4 separate regions of the Homo sapiens genome follow, and regions 2, 3 and 4 are each linked to region 1. The links are contacts of gene promoters, found by promoter capture Hi-C in blood cells and fetal thymus (Javierre and others, 2016). All regions are on one chromosome and are shown on one strand. The core of a region is centred on a gene start or on the middle of the fragment in contact, and the rest is flanking DNA. Distances in the headings are between cores, read along the strand shown.

The links. Contacts are between HindIII fragments. The CHiCAGO score rates a contact against its expected background, and 5 or more counts as called.
Region 2: a contact is called between a fragment that was not itself captured here and the fragment with the promoter of MRPS23 in region 1, in 1 of 17 cell types (M1 macrophages). The highest score is 5.7, in M1 macrophages.
Region 3: a contact is called between a fragment that was not itself captured here and the fragment with the promoter of MRPS23 in region 1, in 1 of 17 cell types (M1 macrophages). The highest score is 5.5, in M1 macrophages.
Region 4: a contact is called between a fragment that was not itself captured here and the fragment with the promoter of MRPS23 in region 1, in 5 of 17 cell types (M0 macrophages, endothelial precursors, activated CD4 T cells and 2 more). The highest score is 7.0, in M0 macrophages.

What each region holds. Positions count from the first base shown.
Region 1 is chr17:57,847,303-57,851,642 of GRCh38, reverse strand. It overlaps MRPS23 (mitochondrial ribosomal protein S23), which reads left to right and starts at 1,599. Exons shown (of 5, transcript NM_016070.4): 1 at 1,599-1,676; 2 at 2,233-2,403. The coding sequence starts at 1,633. RefSeq lists enhancers at 1,104-1,613, 1,289-1,618. The HindIII fragment of the contact is 6,704 bases long and covers 1-2,848 here.
Region 2 is chr17:57,091,877-57,096,835 of GRCh38, reverse strand. All of the region lies in intron 1 of AKAP1 (A-kinase anchoring protein 1), which reads right to left. Among named protein-coding and RNA genes, the nearest start is that of AKAP1, 9.1 kb to the right of the region's middle. RefSeq lists enhancers at 3,453-3,952, 4,875-4,959. The HindIII fragment of the contact is 4,020 bases long and covers 497-4,516 here.
Region 3 is chr17:57,143,438-57,148,256 of GRCh38, reverse strand. No RefSeq gene overlaps it. Among named protein-coding and RNA genes, the nearest start is that of AKAP1, 61 kb to the right of the region's middle. The HindIII fragment of the contact is 1,113 bases long and covers 1,669-2,781 here.
Region 4 is chr17:57,121,427-57,125,999 of GRCh38, reverse strand. No RefSeq gene overlaps it. Among named protein-coding and RNA genes, the nearest start is that of AKAP1, 38 kb to the right of the region's middle. The HindIII fragment of the contact is 1,208 bases long and covers 2,571-3,778 here.

The DNA of each region.
Region 1 (4,340 bases), core at 350-2,849:
CTGGACTCTTGAGCCTACCAGCCTCGAGCTTTAGGCATAGCTTAGGCGGCATTGTGAGGCACTGGAAAGGGCCCTGGCTGCCCCACCCCCCCAAGGCTGGCTCTATCAGTTGCTTATCAGACAAGTTATGTAACTTCCTGAGGCCTTGCTTTCTCATCTATAATGAGGATGTTAATAGCTACCTTATGGGAAGGTATGTGGATTCAGTAAGATAACACACACAAGCAGTAACTACTCATCAAACAGTCCCGTCCTCCCCTTCACCAGCCTCAGAGTGGGAGGACTCTAGGATGACTTGACTAGGCTCCCAGGAGACATTGTGTGTGATTCAAAACATTCATTGGATTAAAAGTTCAAATATGAATACAATCTCTTTACAAGTCAAACTCTGAAGCATGTGTAAAGGAAGAAAAAATTCTCCCTTGCCTGCCTGCAGTTTCACTCCGAGATATCCAATGTTCACAGCCTTGGGTGTCCTTCTGCAGAATTTCTATCCTCAAACACAAACATATATAGAGGTGTTTCTTTTTCCTTTTTTTTTTCTAACACGTTGAGATTCCACTAAACATGTTTCTTTGCAACTTCGTTTTTCATTTAAACATAAGTCATGTACCTTAACCTTGGTAAATACATGTGGATCTAGCTCATTCATTTTAATAGCTGCATAGGGTTCCAAAGAAAGTATGAACAATAATTTTCCAGCTATTTCTCATCTGATGGATTTTTTTTCCCACTACAAACAATGCTGCAACGATGATCCTTGCACAAACATCCTCATGAATTGATGCTTTAATTTCTAAGGGGTTCTTTCCCCGAAATATGATTACTGGGTCAAAGGGTATGCTACACACAGTTTATATTTTTTTACAGTTTAACACTGAGAGATGACTTTCTCCAGATTTTTTCGTTTCCCTCTCGGCGTCTGTTTGTTCCGGACACTTTCACTTTTCGAGTTCCAAGGAGGAGGTAGCCCGCGACACCGGCCGCGGGAAACACGAGTTGCAGCCAGCATCCTAGTTAGCGTGGATGCAGGTGGCACTCCGGGGACGAGGGGCTTAGTGGGGAGCACTACACAGCCAGAGGCGGAGGCCCGAGATCTAGCACGACGCTGGGCAAGTGACGGCCCCTCCCCGGCCTTGGTTTTCTTCTGCGTAGTCTGTGACTCTAAACAACATTAGGCTCAGCCTGGGCCTAGAGCTGGTGACCTCAAATCTCGGCCTTTGTTGGCTCCCCTAGGACTGTAGGCTGCGCTTCACCCCTGCTCTGCCCCACTACTTCTCCTCCGCGCGGCCCCACCTTTTCAGAGGAGTTGGCTCAACAAGGCGAGAGAGAGTAAAGCAACCATCATGATGAATCCCTCCCACAGCTCGGTCATTTATTACTTCTGTCCGGCTTTGGCTCGCTCCTGCCCTTTTGGCTCGGCTATCGAGTGCTCCTGCCTGAACCTGGCAAGTAACCTCGGAGCGCGCCCGTTCGGCCTATCACTTGCTTCTGCCTGCGCCGCTCTCCCGCAGGGGCTGCGGTGAAAGCCCAGCGATCCTTGGCTCGGCCAGCAACTTATGCGCCCTTTACCTGGAGCAGCCGCTTCCGGTTCCGGTAGCAGCTAGTCACGCTCGGTACCAGGCGCAGATCATGGCAGGCAGCCGGCTGGAAACCGTAGGGAGCATCTTCTCTCGGTGTGTGCTCCCAGCCGTGGTGGGCTGAGGGTGCCTCCCCCAGGCTGGGGTTCTCAGCCGGTCACGCTCTTCCTTGGAGCGGACCTGAGCAGGGCGAGGCGTATTGCAGGGTGCGGGGGCTGAGCTGGGTGAGGCCCTCTCATGTTTTCTCCTGGCTCCGAATAGTTGTGCCTGAGGATGCCTCTCCTTGAATTTATGTGTCATGTTAAAGATTATTGCAGCTGCCTCTCCCCGAGTGGAGGTCTCTAGGAAGAGGAAGGGAGGAAGAGCCTGATGGGCCTTCCTTATCAGGTCATGCAAGACCGCTCTTTGCATTTTTCCGTGACCGAACGTGGGTGGGACGCACAAAAGAAGATAGAGGGATTTAACTCTCCTGAGCGTTGTTAAGTTTGGTTTGGGATGTGGACAGATCTTCTCTGTAGGTGGGGAGCAGTCCTTCCCCGTTCTGTGTTGCAGACCGCATAATACCTTTAATGTCCCAAACTGTGCTAGACTGATTCAGGGGCTTTGGCAGGCTACTGCAAGTGACCCAGTTTCGTTCTGTTCCCTCCCTAAGGACTCGGGACCTGGTTCGGGCCGGGGTGCTGAAGGAGAAGCCCCTGTGGTTTGACGTATATGACGCCTTTCCCCCGCTGAGGGAGCCCGTCTTCCAAAGGCCTCGAGTGCGATATGGCAAAGCCAAAGCTCCCATCCAAGACATCTGGTACCACGAGGATCGGATTAGAGCGTGAGTGCTCAGCCCTGTAGTGGACAGGAGGCAACAGAACTTCAGAAGGGAAGGTTTCGGTAGCAGTCTGGGAATTCAAACATGAAATTGAGTCAGGGGTTTGCCCTGTGGAGAAGGCTTATCTAGCCAAATTAGGGAGGCAGCACCCCTTCCTCATAGTGAAACTGAAGTTCTGAAAAGTGGAATCTGGAGCCCAGCAACCGAAAGATCATTGCAATTATAGCCGCATGTTTCTGGGCATCTGCTTTGGGCCAGGCACTGTACTAAGCTCTTTGCAAGCATTATCTCATTCTCTAAAGGCCTTACTCTAACTTGTAAGGAAGGCATTCTTGTTTCCATTTTATTCAAGGAGACTGCGAAGCTCAAGGAAATTAGCTAACTTCTTGTAATTACTAAATATATAGGAGGGTGGCAGATCTGGGAATCACATCTCTGACTCCAAGCTTATGGTGATCATTATGCCGGCCTTCTCCACGAGTGGAGATAGGAGGAACGTGGTCTGTGGATCTAGTAGTCCGGCTCTTTGAAGCCACTCAGATGAAAGGATGCTTGAAAGTCTAAGAGAGGCCGGGTGCGGTGGCTCACGCCTGTAATCCCAACACTTTGGGAGGCCAAGGCGGGCGGATCACCTGAAGTCAGGAGTTCGAGACCAGTCAGACCAACATGGTGAAACCCCGTCTCTACTAAAAATACAAAAATTAGCCGGGCATGGTGGTGGGTGCTTGTAGTCCCAGCTACTCGGAAGGCTGAGACAGGAGAATTGCTTGAACCTGGGAGGTGGAGGTTGCAGTGAGCCGAGATCCCACCACTGCACTCCAGCCTGGGCGACAGAGAGAGACAATCACTAGGAATTTGAAGGAAAATCATGTGTTCTTTATTTTTTTTTAGCATCCCTTTTCTCTTTTTTTTTCTTTTTCTTAAGCTCAGTGGCAAGAATACTTCCTCTTTTATTATAAAAGCAACACATGCTACTTGTAGAAAATTTAGATACACAAAGAAAGCATAAAAAGAAATCACAGGCTGGATGTGGTGGCTTGTGCCTGTAATCCTAGTGCTTTGGGAGGCATAAGGGAGGATAGCTTGTGCCCAGGAGTTTGAGACCACCCTGGGCAACATAGCAGGACTTGTCTCTACCAAAAAAAAAGTAGTTGTCTTAGTTTACACTCTGATTAGCAGTTTCTGAGAGTTCTTACTTTATCCTTGTCAGTATTGATAATGATTATTTAAGAATTTTTTTTTTCTGGGCCAGGCACGGTGGCCCACGCCTGTAATCCTGGCACTTTGGGAGGCTGAGGTGGGCAGATTGCCTGAGCTCAGGAGTTCGAGACCACCTTGGGCAATATGGTGAAACCCTGTCTTGACTAAAATACCAAAAATTAGCCGGGCTTGGTGGTGGGCACCTGTAGTCCCAGCTACTTTGGATGCTGAGGTGGGAGAATCGCTTGAAACTAGAAGGTGGAGGTTGCAGTGAGCTGAGAGTGCACCACTGCACTCCAGCCTGGGCAACAGAGGGAGACCCTGTCTCCAAAAAAAAAAAAAGTTTTGTTTTTTTCTGATCTAAGTATTTTTTTTTTTTTCGAGATGGAGTCTCACTCTGTCTCCCAGGCTGGAGTGCAGTGGCGCAATCTCGGCTCACTGCAAACTCTGCCTTCCGGGTTCATGCCATTCTCCTGCCTCAGCCTCCTGAGTAGCTGGGACTACAGGCGCCCACCACCACAGCTGGCTAATTTTTTGTATTTTTAGTAGAGACAGGGTTTCACCGTGTTAGCCAGGATGGTCTCAATCTCCTGACCTCGTGATCCGCCTGCCTCGGCCTCCCAAAGTGCTGGGATTACAGGCGTGAGCCACCGCGCCCGGCCTCTTTATTCTCTTTTTTTCCAAAACTTAAATAGTCACAGAAAATGTGCTCCTAATGGTTGCCTAGGAACATTCTTTTT
Region 2 (4,959 bases), core at 1,257-3,756, 760 kb after region 1:
CTCTAAAGGGTGTTCCCAGAAGGCCCCAATGAACAGGAGGGCTGGATACATGCTGCAGCCGCCAACACCTACCTTGCTGGGTAGTGCTCGGTTCTGCCACCAAGGGTGGGGGCGATGGTAGGCCTGGGCTGTGCACCCTCAGCAGCATGGCTGGGCCAGGAATCAGAGTGCTGGAGCCATGGCTCAGGTGTTGGTCCCAGCCCAGCCTCAGTGCTCACAGGACTGTTACCTTCATCCTCAGGGGCCTGTGTAAGTCACAGTAAGCTATGACTTCATGTGGGTACCCTAGAGATCCCAAATTAGCTCACAGTGGGGTTGTGAGGTCCTGTCTAGGACTGTCCCCCACCCTCCATTGTGATGGCCCACAGAGAAGCCAGGGGGGCCAGCACCACCAGACCAGCACACTTTGTGGGTGCTTCTGCCCTTCCACGTAGAGCAGCTGTCAGGAACTCGGGACACTTTCCCAGCCCAATTCACAGAAGGAAGGCCAGAAGCTTAACCCAGTAGTGTCTGAGTACCTGCTTGGCAAAGCCTTCTACGGCCAAAATGAAAACCCTGAATCCACTACCAGGTGCTCTAGGTAAGACAAGACAAGCCAAAAGCCAGAAATACCATCTCTGGACATGGCCTCAAAGTAAGAGCTCCGCCAGCCCAACTAAAAGTTAAACCAACTCCTGCTCTGGAAAACTTAGTACCCGAGGTTGAACTGCCCAGTCTCTTTCCTGCTCTGCTGGCCAAATCCATGGCAGGTCCAAGTCACATGCCTCTTTTCGTGAAGGAAAAATCATCAGCACCTCCTACAAAGGTCTTCCTAATCACTTCATTTTGGGGGTAGGGGTGTGGATTTTAAAACTTTGAAGACTATGTCACACTCACCTTGCCCCTCACCTCTGGCCTTGACAACCATCTTGCTTTACAAGTGAATTCCGCCAGGTTTCTAAAGATGGTCACAACACAGGTGCCAGGAATGCCTTCCTGGGTACATGGAGTTCCCGCCCACGACCACAGAAGACATTACACAAAACTGCCCAAAAAGTATGAAATGGCAATCTGACAACAACCTGACTTAAAAGCCAGTAAAGACATCAGAAAAGATGTTGGTGTGCAGCAAGAAACCCTTCGCAGCACCTCACATGGGCAAAACCAAAGAGGTAAGACCCTGATCTTCCTAATGGCAGACAGTGAACTACGACCACCCCAGAAATCACATAAAAGCATAGAAGGTAATTTCTATTCAACAAATAATTACTGGCACTCACAGAGAAAAGCATGGTGGGACACAAATTAATCAGGCAAGGCACTGCCCTCGAGGCACTTTCAGTCTTGGCGGGGAGTAGTGGAGGGCAGAAGAAAAAAAAAAAAAAAAAAAAAGCCCAAACAGGCCACCACGGTAGCTCACGCCTACAATCCCCAACACTTCGGGAGGATTGCTTGAGGCCAGGAGCTCAAGACCAGCCTGGGCAATATAGTGAGACCTTGTATCTACAAAAAAAAAATTTTTTTTTAATTACCCAGGCATAGTGGCGCACACCTGTAGTCCCAACTACTCGAGAGGCTGAGGTGGGAGAATTGCTTGAACCCAGGAGGCAGAGGTTGCAGTGAGCCGAGATCGCACCACTGCACTCCAACCTGGGCAACAGAGTGACACCTTGTCTCAAAAAACAAGCAATGACCTTTTCTCCAGTGGGCCTGTTACTGCCACTCTCTGCTACTGACCAACTGAAAGTTTTGTCCATAGGACATGGAAGTGCCCTGTTAGGGGTGAAGGAGGAACAGAAAATGGGGTGCCAGTGTCCTCAGACTAGAATGTTCTAGTATCTTGGGGTAGGAATGAGAGAATATAAGCCTGAATGCCAGCATTATGGGAGCCAAGGAGAGTTGGGATGCCCCATTCAATATATAGACTTTCATTCAAGACCCATCTTCAGCCAGGCACGATGGCTCACACCTGTAATCCCAACACTTTGGGAAGTTGGAAGATTACTTGAGCCCAGGAGTTCGAGACTAGCCTGGGCAATGTGGTGAGACCTCATCTCTACAAAAAAAAATTTAAAAGAATTAGTCGGGCATAGTAGTACATGCCTCTTGTCCCAGCTACTGAGCAGGCTGAGGTGGGAGGATCACTTGAGCCCAGGAAATCAAGGCTGCAGTGAGCTATGATGGCATTACTGCACTCCAGCCTGGGGGACAGTGAGACCTGTCTTTAAAAAAAAAAAAAAAAAAAAAAAGTTGGGGGGGACCCATTTTCACCACTCCCTGGTACCCAAATCCAGATCGCCACATTTATAACTTCTCTAAAAAGTGAAGCCAGACCTTCTGCTGGCCTGGCCTGGCGGAAGGGCTCCACAGGCCTAGTTGTCTGCTGACTTCAGCCACCCAACTGAAGGCCCAATCCATGCCTTCAAAGGTGCCTGTCCCTGCATGGATCGGCTGGCTTCTTGTGGGCCACAAACCACGCACACCTTCTCAGCAAGCTACTGAACGATGGGCTCCCCCAAGACAAGGAAATCAACCAAGAAAGGAGGGGCACTGGATCCAGAAACGAGACAAGAGAAGGGGAGAGGGAATTCCAAGGCTGAAGGGGAAGCAGAGCCAGGGAAAAGGGATGCGCCCAGGAGAAACGTGGAACCGTTGCGAGTACCTGGTATGTGGAGCCACAGTGAGAGCCACTTTCCCCCAATGACAGGCATTCCACAGCAATGGTGGAGGCTGCGAGGTGGTCAGGGAACTGGTGAGAGAGACAGAAAATTAAGCAAAAGAAACTAAGGAAATTAACTAGGAGAGGAGAAGAAGAAAATGAAGGAAAAGAAGAAATATGGGAAACTAAAAACCTTGCAGCCATAAACAAGGTTCATATTATAATAATGTATATTCTGAAGATCAACTTGACCAAAACTTGGGCTATCTCTACACTGGGATGATGAGGGAAGAAAAAAGCATAGGAACGAGCTAAATCCTATCTCCCACAGCAGAAAAACAAATCAGATAATAATCCTTAAAAAGAAAGAAAATAATACTACTGACAATGGTGGGGACAGCTGGAAGAATTGAAAGTAATGGGGGTGGGGGGCAGTGGGCAAAGGACTGTCCTTTCAAGCCTTGTACACAGTCAAAAGCCAAATCCTTTCTACAAGTAATGTTTTGATAGAAAACACGTTATTAAGATACATACAAGTAGCAATGCATGCTCTATTACCACACAGCTTTATGTTTCTTATTAACCATCCTAAATTTGCATTAATGTCAACTCATCTGTGTACAAACTTGTAAGGCCTTATTTTCCTATAATAATTGATGCCAATTTTGCTTCAGAGACCCCCAGCTGCCCAGCTGACATAATAGTAATATCAAAAAGAGAGCATGCTTATTGACAGGTTAGATCCCTCTGGAAGCAAGGCATTGAGGGCTAGCCAGCATCAGATGGCTGGACCTCTCAGGGCCAGTCATTTAACAAAGAGTTTAACACGCACTGTGAGCCAAGTTCGCTGGGCACATAAGGCAAAGAGATCCCTCAGGAAGCAAAGGTGGAAGGAAGGGTAGAGAGTCAAATTACAGGTAAGATACTGCAAAGATTCCGCGACTTAAATATAAAGACCTGCAGCCTCTCTCAACTGATTGAGAGAACTGAGCCCTAAGGCTGCCCTTGCATGTGATGAATTACCTATATCCCTGTGCGTGTAGCAGGGCACCAGCTGGGAGAGTTGAGGAACGGTCACCTAGTCCTTTTCTGTGTGCTGTGGTTGAAATGAGAAAGGCTGGATGGAGCACTTGGAAGGGGAAGCTGCAGACAGAATGAGGCGGGAATGCCTCTTGGAAGAGGTGGCATCAGAACTGGAACACTTGAGAACTGTGCCAAGATCTGGGGGGAAGCAGGAGGAGAGCGGGGAGAAAGTTCCAGGCAGGAAGAACATGTGCCAAAGTCCTAAGGCAGGAACAGGCTTGGCTGACTCAAGAGGTAGCAAGAGGGGAGGTGAAGATGAGGCAGAGCATGGCTCTCAGAAAAAGGGCTCTCCAACATCACTGCGCGGAAGGCCAGTCGGACTCGCAAGAACCCCAAGGGACACGGTCCACCAAACTTTCTCCAGAGGGGAAAGCGATGTGCCTGAAGAGCCAAGGGGCTTTAGTTCTTAATTAATAAGCAGAAGCTGCTTCCAGACTTGATTCCTGAAACAGGATGCCTCTGTGGCTGGTAGCATGACAGGTACACTGTGTAGGTAAACAGGGGCTTGCTTTTACCTTTAAGTTCTCAGCGAATACACTTGCCAGGAAGCCCTGTGGCCACACCACACATTAGCCTTACAGAGCCACCACTAAGGGTAAGGGATAATAAGCCCCCCTTACTCTCAGGCTCCCTCAAAGGAACCTGTTCCAATAAGGCAGTCCAGCCCCAGGAGGCGGACACACACAGCCTACGTAAGCCCTTGCCACTTCTTTGAATCAGACTTTGCAAAAAACAACCTTGCTCTCCAGCCAACATAAACCATAGGCAACAGAGGGCCTTATAAGGCTTGAAGCTTTCTTAATCAGAAACAGTTAGATGGGCTGGAGTTAGCAGCTCCAAGTTAGAGGGAAGGAGGAACTGAAAAGGAGAGAAGAAAGGGTGGCCTAGGGAACCAGCAAGCTTGCTGGTCAAACTGCTTTTTCATCCCTCTTCAGCTTCTGTGTCATCACAGTAAAGAATTCTCACCGGGGGTCTATGGCCATGCCTCCTTTCATGTTTGCATTTTGGTTTAAGCCAGAGGAATCAGACTGCCCACCAATCCACACTATTAGAGAGTTTTTAAGTGTCCATTTAGTGGCCAGCCTTTAGGCTGGGCAACTTCACACAAAAATGAAGTTATGGGGCCAGGCACGGTGGCTCACACCTGTAATCTCAGCACTTTGGGAGACCAACATGGAATGATCACTTGAGCCTAGGAGTCTTGAAATGGGTCTGGGCAAGGTGATGAGACCCCATCA
Region 3 (4,819 bases), core at 976-3,475, 700 kb after region 1:
CAGACACTACGATAGCGTCAGCTCCCACAGGCTGAGGGCTTAGTCCCCGTGACTGCCCTCCAGCACACACCAGTGGCAAGTCCAGGCCTCTGAAACTTCTGACTGATTGGCTTCACAATTGCCCCCACCACCCTCTTTGTGTTCAATTAATTTGCTGGAGCAGCTCACAGAACTCAGGGGAACACTCGCATTTACCAGTTCATTATGAGGAATATCGCAGCCAGGCACAGTGGCTCACGCCTGTAATCCAAGCACGTTGGGAGGCCAAGGTGGGCAGATCACTCGAGGCCAGGAGTTCGAGACCAGCCTGGCCAACATGGTGAAACCTCGTCTCTGCAAAAAATACAAAAATTAGCCAGGCGTGATGGCGCATGCCTGTAATCGCAGCTACTCAAGAGGCTGAGGTGGGAGGATGGCTTTAGCCCGGGAGGTAGAGGTTGCAGTGAGCCAAGATCACACCACTGCACTCCGGCCTGGGCACAGAGCAAGACTCTGTCTCCAAAAAAGGATATTGCAAAGGATACAGATGAAGAGATGCATAGGGTATAGGAGAAAGGGCGTGGAGCTTCCATCCCCTCCCTGGGATACCAGGCTTCACACGTTCAGCTATCCGGGAGCTCCCCCAACCCAGTCCTCTTGGGTATTTATGGAAGTTTCAAAGCATTTTCCCCCCAGGGTACAGGGTGGGACCCTCTCTGAAGAAAGCCTTAAGACCCACAATCAGAAAGGCAGGGGAAGTTGAGGCTGGGTATAGTGGTTCATACCAGTGATCCCAACACTTTGTGAGGCTGAGGCGGGCGGATCACCTGAGATCAAGAGTTCAAGACTAGACTGGCCAACATGGTGAAACTGTGTCTCTACTAAAAATACAAAAATTAGCTAGCCATGGTGGTGGGCACCTGTAATTCCAGCTACTCAGGAGGCTGAGGCAGGAGAATTACTTGAACCCAGGAGGCAGAGGTTGGAGTGAGCTGAGATTGCGCCACTACACTCCAGCCTGGGTGACAAAGCGAGACTCCATCTCAATAAAAAAAGAAAATGAGAGTCCTATCTTGAGTTAGGTGAATGGAGGGCAAGAGAGAGATTCTGTTTCCTGAAGCCTGCCCCTGAGGCCTAATACACCCAACATTATAAGTAAAGGCTGTAACAGGGGCTATGGGAGATATGAAGCAGAAGCCGTGGACAACAGCCCATCTATATCATAACACCACGTATTCCATTACCGGGTTCTACTGTGTATGTGAGCTGGGAATGAATAAATCCAGTAACTGTCTTGGGAAAAGCACATTTATATTGCATCTTATTTGTTTTTATAATAATGGCCTTGATTTTAAACATGCACACATTTGAAGCACACCACAATTTTTGCAATCCGTTTTGACATTTCTCCATTGTTTAATAAACCAAAGCTTAAAGAAAGGACAATGTTCTGGCCCTCTCTGAACCTCCAGGAGGCCCCATCATGAACATAGCCACAGGATGGGCAGAGACAGGGAGGAGTCCAGAGGGGCTGTGTTCTCCACAAGACACAGCCTGGAGGTGGGGTGGGGCTTCGCCAAGTGCCAGCCCTCGGGGGCACCGATGAGGCAGAAGATGGGCTGGGGCACCCAGTCTTGGCTTGAGCCCTCTCTGCCTGCTGCTCAGAAGGAACCTGCAGCAACCCAAGCTTTCTAAAGCCCAGGCTGTGCCATTCTTTTTCATAGCTGTCAGGGCGGTATAAAGCACATTGCCTGGGCCAAGGTGCTTTTGTCCCCCTGGAAAAGAGGGCTGGAAGCTGGAAGACAGCCAGGGAACTGCCCAAAGGGGTAGTCAGGGCCAGCTTCCTGGGCATCTGTCCTGTGCAGTCACACAGGGCCTCATACTGAGAAGGGCTCCACAGTTGGTTAATACTCTGCCGTCACAGTCTTAACACTTTTTTTTTTTTTTTTTTTGAGACGGAGTTTCACTCTTGTTGCCCAGGCTGGAGTGCAATGGCGCGATCTTGGCTCACTGAAACCTCCAACTCTCGGGTTCAAGCGATTCTTCTGCCTCAGCCTCCTGAGTAGCTGGGATTACAGGCATGTGCCACCACACCTGGCTAAGTTTTGTATTTTTAGTAGAGACGGGGTTTCGCCATGTTGACCAGGCTGGTCTTGAACTCTTGACCTCAGGTGATCCACCTGCCTTGGCCTCTCAAAGTGCTAGGATTACAGGCGTGAGCCACCATGCCCGGCCTACATTATTTTTATTTTTAATTTTTTAGTTTTTTATATTTAAAAGATAGAGACGGAGGTCTCATTATGTTACCCAGGCTGGTCTTGAACTCCTGGGCTCAAGCGATCCTCCCACCTCAGCATCCCAAACTGCTTCAGCCACTGCACCCAGCAGTCTTAAAGTCTTAATCTTTGTTGAACAAGAGGCCCTGCAGTTTCATTCCCCTCCCACTCCCCACAAACGTAATGGTCAGTCCTGGAGTAGCAGACTGTGGCATTAATAGCCTATGTCTGGAGTCGGGGTTCTATTCCCAGCTCTGCCCCTTGCTGCCGGGGCATCTTGGTCAAGCCATTTAAGCTCCATGCCTCAGTGCCCTATCTGTAATATGGGGGTAACAGCTATACCCGTTCAGAAGATGTTAAGAGAATCAAATCAGCCTTCAGCTCCCAGCTTGGCACATTACAAAGTACTCAATGAAGCTCGGTGATTAGCGCTAAGATGATTGAGGGCGGATTACAGAGGCAGTACTCTTGCCTGGACCTGCCTCAGAAATGCCTTTTCTAAAGGCAGGAGCAAAAGAAAGAAGCTTTGGGATTAACTCTTCCAAAATAGCAAATGTTCTCTCTTCAGCATTAGGGCTAACACCAGTGGCATTATTACACCCCAGGAAAAATGTGTCCTCATCAAGTCACAAAAGCCTGGTTTCAACCCACAGAGGGAACAACAACAAAAACGTCTGAAATGCTGAAAAAGCCAAGAGCGTCGGGTACACGTTATCCAGCCCATCTTTGATTTGGGAGTTCACTGAAGCATGACTGATGCATGGTTATCTTGGGTCCTATATGTCTCTTCCGTAAATAGACTTTTGTTACAAGAAAAAAAATGGACTGACTTGGAAAAACAGAAAGAAACACAAGGAGCAGCGAGACTTTTTCCCTTCTCACAAAATGGACAGGTCTGAGAACTCCCAGGATCCTGGCTGTTCACAGATCAATTAACCTCCTGTAGCCTCAGTTTCTGCCCTTGTAAATGGGGAGTATGCAGGAGTGATGAGGAACACAGATTCTGGAGACAGACTCCCGGGGGCATCTTAACAATCTCACTTACCGGTTGTGTGGCCTGGGACACACACTAGGCTTCTGTGCTTCTGCTTCTACCTCCTGTAGAAGCTACAGTACCTACCTCCTGGGGTCGTTGGGAGGGTGAAGCAGGATAATATACATAAAGCGTAAGGAATGGTGCCTGGCCCAGAGTAAGTCCGCAATAAATGTTAGCTGCAGACCATGAACCTAAATCCCCCAGCTGCAGTTGTGCTGAATAATGGGAGAAGTAGTCGTAGCAGTTGTTGCTATTGTTATTTAAACTGCCGCAGGACCTCTGATCTTGTGACTTCAGGTTCCTTCTGCATATGCCTCCAAAATGTAGGAGACCCTTAAGGAGCATCAGCGATTGGTCAAGGCCTAGGGATAAGCTAAACTCAGATGAGATCTTCCCAACCTTCCCCACCCAGAGGACCATGATCATAGGCCTCAGAGTCATTTTAATGTCAGAGAAGAAAAGAACCAGCTGGGCGCAGTGGCTCACGCCTATAATCCCAACACTTTGGGAGTACGAGGCAGGCAGATTGCTTGAGCCCAGGAGTTCAAAACTAGCCTGAGTAACATGGCAAAGCCCTGTCTCTACTGAAAAAAAAAATGCAAAAATTAGACAGGCATGGTGGCACATGCCTGTAGTCCCAGTTACTCAGGAGGCTTAGGTGGGAGGATCACCTGAGCCCAGGAGGTCGAGGCTGCAGTGAGCCACTGCACTGCAGCCTGGGACACAGAGTGAGACTCAATCTCAAAAAAAAAAAAAAAAAAAAAAGAATCTTGTAGGTCAGCACGTCCACATTCCTCATTTATAGATGAGGAACTAAAGCTCAGAGAAGGCAAGTGACCTGCTCAAGGTCACACAGAACAGGAGCTGAGCTAGGAAGACAGCTCAGAGTTCATGACTTTGCACATCCGTTCCCTTCCTGTTCCCGCTTACAGCTTATTCTGTTGGAGTCCCTGGCCCCTCACAAGGTCCCCCGACCTCTCTATCTCCCAGGTGAGCATCTGTCAGGTTATGGACTCATCTAATTATTGGCCACATCCTACTAGAGACCCATTTTTCTTACTGAATCAGGCCACCATTAGGTCCTGAAAGCCCCATAAAGTCTTCTACGGATGAGCAGATCCTTTAATCTATTATTCCCGAGTCCTATTTATATATATTTATCCATATGGCTATATAAATAGGGCTTTGAGATGTATACGTGGCAGGTTATTGCTGTAGCATAGCTGTTCTCCCCAAGAGGAAAACAAAAATGATGTATGGCAGAAGCTCTTTTCCATGCAGAAAGCTCCTGTCTGATTTATTAAGAGTTAGGTTGCAGTCACATGCTCTGAAGTAGTGAATCTATTGCAAAGTTATCTAAGAGCAGGACACTCTCAGCTCCAGAAGCCAAAACAGCAAGTCTAGGGTGTGGCAAGAGCTCAAAGAATCTTACAGCAGTCACTCGCTAGGTACTTGCCATATCCCACGGTATTAACTAGGATTCCTTTGGTTGCAAGTTTAAGCAAAAAAGGGAAGCTTGTTATAAGGA
Region 4 (4,573 bases), core at 1,925-4,424, 730 kb after region 1:
AAAGAGAAGCAGAGGCATCACATGCAAGCAAAGACAGAGTCTGGAGTGCAGAAGACCCGGTTCAAGTCTGGCTCTGCTGATTTGAAGCCTCAGTTTCCTTCCTACCTCACCAGCAATTGCCAGGATCCCATTACAAAGTGGGAGAAGGCACCCACTCAGGAAAGCACCATCTGCACCGAGATCATCAAACCCCACTCCCAAAACAGAGAAGCTCCCTAAAGGCTCAATGTTTGTTTCATCTTTGAAGCCCCCAGCAGGATGCTTGGCATACAGCAGGTGCTCAATGGAGAGAAAGAAATCAGTGGGAGCAGTCAGAGCTCCTGCCTGTCACCAAGCCAGGGAGGCTGGTGAAAGACAAGAAATCCATCCCAGCTCCAGGTAGGAGGTATCCGCCTTCCTTGCCCAGAGCATCAGGGCTTCTCAAATACCGTCTGTCCCCACCAGATGTCAGTTGGGCCTATTTCTAACAAGAAACAGCCAAGATCTCTCTTAGATGATTTGCTTTGTAAAAATACAAGTCAGCCTCATTAAGAGGAATCTTCAGGAAGGCTCTTATTCACAGATCAGTCAAAAGTCAAACCTGGCAAGCATGTCAGCACTCACCTAATTCACCCCCACTGTTTACAGAGGGGGTTATGAGAAGAGAGGGCGAGGAGCTTGTCCCCAGTCAGGCATAAGAACATGGTACCCTGGCAGCTTCTATGGCCAGAGCTCTGAGCCCTTGGAGGAAAGGTGTGGGACCCTAGAATGACAGGCCATGGGGAACACACAAGCCCCAAACCTCAGAGGCTCATGTGAGATGTTTCACAAACCACACACCCATTGAGAGCTGGCTGCAGCCCTGTTCCACGTTATCTTCACACTGGGACCCAGGTGGGTGGATGGGTATCTACCTGGCATGTAGCTGACGCTGGTGCAGAGGGAGAAGACAAGCGAACCACATACTGGCTCAAGGCATCTGCCTTGGTGACTTGTGCCACCTTTACCCATCTTCCACTGACCAGGATGAGTCCATGCCTGAGTCCAACAAAACACAGTAGGATGTACAATCCTACCGTGAGGAAGACAGAATTTTTGGCAAGGAGACATCCAGTCTACCAGAGATGCCCAGCCAAACTACAAAAAAATATGTTGATGTACAAGGTCTCATACATGCTCTGACAACAATTTCAGGGCTGGGTGCAGTGTCTTGTGTCTGTAATCCCAGCACTTTGGGGGCTGAGGCAGCGGAGATCGCTTGAGGCCAGGAGATCAAGACCAGCCTGGGCAACATGGCAAGACCTCATCTCTACAAAAACAATGAAAAAACAAATTAGTTCGGTGTGGTGGCATGCGCCTGTGCTCCCAGCTGCTCAGGAGGCTGAGGAGGGAGGATTGCTTGAGTCAGGGAGTTCGAGGCTGCAATGAGCTGACTGCACCACTGCACTCCAGTCTGGGCAGCAGATCGAGACCCTGTATTTAAAAAAAAAAAAAAAACCAGGGAAGGAGAGGGCGAGAAAGGAAAACAATAAATTCAAATATTTTACACACCCAACTTCATAGATTATATAAAACTTTATACCAACTCAATAGCGTGCATTATTTTCAAATACCAATAGAATATTTAGTATGGCCCCCTTCCCTGCAAAATGATTCTAAAGTTCATCTGGAAAAATAAATGTGCAAAAGGACATACAACTTTTTGAATAAGGAAGAACATAAATAAGGCTGTCAGTATCAGTGTGATAGTGATCAATGGAATAGTCCAGGCCTACACTGTCCAACGTGATAGCCACAAGCCACACGTGGCTATCATGCCCTTGAAATGTGGCCGGCCTGAACAGAGATATGCTGAAGTGTCAAATGCACACTGGACTTAGTAGGAAAAACACTGTAAAACAACTCCTTAATGTTTCATATCCATTACATGCTGAAATGATATGACTTAAAGTATTATGAAAATTAATTTCATCTGTTTCTTTGCACTTTTTAACTGTGGCTCCTAGAAAGTTTTAAATTACAGATGTGGCTCACATATTTCTATTGGCCACTGCTGGTCTAGGAACAGACCCAGATTTTCCATCCACATCCTTTATGATATTTCCCAATGGAAACTTAGAGATTTGTCTTGGGTTTTTTCTTTGTTTTGATTTTTTGAGACAGTCTGGCTCTGTCACCCAGGCTGGAGTCCAGTGGTGTGATCTCAGCTCACTGCAACCTCCGCCTTCTAGGTTCCAGCGATTCTCCTGTCTCAGCTTCCCAAGTAGCTGGGATTACAGGTGCGTGCCACCATGTCATTTTTCTTGTAGAGATGGGGTTTTTGCTATGTTGGCCTGGCTGGTCTCGAACTCCTGGCCTCAAGTGATCCACCCAATTCAGCCTCCTGAAATGCTGGGATTACAGGCGCGATCCACCGTGCCTGGCCAGTTTTCCTTGTTTTACGTTATCACGGATTCAAAACGTCCACTCTCTGGCCCTAGCTGCTGCAGGTGTCTCTTGGCTTTATGTTACTTAAGATTTAAATTTTCCATAAAAGCAAAATCATTGATCTCTCTTGTCATGGTATCTTTCCCACTCTAAGTTCCAAAGCTTTTCCATGGACTGATCATTTAATCACTGTGGCATTTATTTGGGGATGTGGACTGGGGCAAGATGAATCCACGCTGCTTTAGGGGTGGTGGTGAAGAGCACCTGGCCTGGGGTAGCAGCCTGGTTTTTAGTTTCAGCTCTGCTCTATCCACGAACCACTTTCCAAAATCACCATCTTCTACCTCTTGGGTCTGCTCATCTACGGAGTCCCTGCCTCCCTGGGTTGTGTCAAGGACTCAGTGTTACCTGTAAAAGAGACAGCACCTGACACAGTAAGCACTCCCTAACTCTAGCTACAACTCTCATTTTATCTTAGAACTGACATTAGTTATCGTCTGACAGATGTTGATGTCTACAAGTGGCATACCTGAAGTTGTACAAGGTATAGCAGTAACCCTAAAACCCAGCCTCCATGGTGATGCCCCAGAGACCAGAGGGGCAGTACTGACACCAATGCCTATAATGAGAACAGGGTGGAAGCTCTAGCCTCCTGCATCCAGCATTCCACCCCTCTCCCCTACACCCTGGGCAGATTGCCAGATCTCTTGCCAGCACTGGCTTCTCCCGTGAGTTTCCAATTCACACCAAGACATCCCCTGGATGCCCCACAGGTAATTAAAAGAGGGCGTCTCAAATGCACTTGCCCGGGCAGCTGACTTGCAGAGGGATGGAGCGAGGACCTTCATAAATCTGCTCCTCCTTAAGAACAATGAGATTTCTGGCAAAATGGTTAAAAGTCAAGTTTTTCAGAACTCTGGAAATTAATCAAAGGCAACAATCTGAGAAGCATTTATTCGAGGAGTACAAGTCCTTCACCAGCCTCCAACTTGCTCTTCCTCCAGCATTCCAAACCGAGTTTAATGGAGGCACCCTTGCAGGGTAGGACTCTAAGGCGTGGGAGTCCCGGGTAGCAGCCCATCCCACTCATCAAAGCCCAAGGGGCTTTATCTGAGGATCCTGACTTCATCACGTCTTGTCTGTCCCAGGCTCCATCCCAGGGGAATCCCTTTTTTCTCATGTCTACACCTCCACCTCACCCACCCTTCTCCCTGCACCAGAAGCATGTTTTAATGTTTGAAACCCCTCAATGGTTCCCTGGAGATAAAAGCTAAATCTGCACACCAGGCTCTGTGAGCATTCCCTAAGTTAGTCGGAAGGCTTCCGTAGACCTTTTCATGCTCCAGCAATGCTGGATTATAGAGGAAAAGCTTAGACCTGGGTGTATGGTGACCTGGCCAAAGTCACACCCAATTCCTGCCAGGACTTAAAGCCAATAGTGGCTAAGGAACTGCAGGGGAGCTCCCTGGGACCAAGCACTGTAGAAGCAGAGGGCATTTCCATGATTAAATTGCCTTATGAGGTTATCTCATCTTACAGATGAGGGAAACAGAGGCTGTTAACCACACAGGCGAGAACCTGGATGGAGGGGAAGATGGGCACCTGACAATGGCCACAGCTCAGGCTTGGCCAGGACAGAGACGGAAAGAACAAGCCAGCTGGGTTGGAACTGGGAGGAGCTCCCAGGAGTGGGTGTGCGGTGGGAGGATATCTCCAATCAGAATGACCCTCAGGCTACGTCAGCTCTCTAAAAACTAGAGCTCAAGCTCAACAGCCCTGCAGCCAGAGGCCTCAAACGTAGGGGGCAGGGGCGGGGCACTGGGGTAGGCCTGGGCTGCAGTGGCCAGCCTTCTTTAAGAGCAGGGGCTATTAAATTGAGGCAGTATCTCATCCCATAACTTACATGTATTTTTTACATCATTCTTATCACTACAGTAAATTAAATAACTTCACGAATCTATTAAGAATGACAACCAAAGAAGGCACAACCCGTTTTGGAAGCCAGTGCTTTAAACTGAGTCTGGCCAGTTAACATGCAGTGAAGAAGTCGGAGGACGCTTGGCTGCCACCTGGTGGGACAAGGAGAGAGAGGAAAAGGCCAGATAGAAATTTCTGGCCAAATTGTCTTCAAAAAACCATGGGTCTCCTGCAGAGGCAGTTGTGTGGG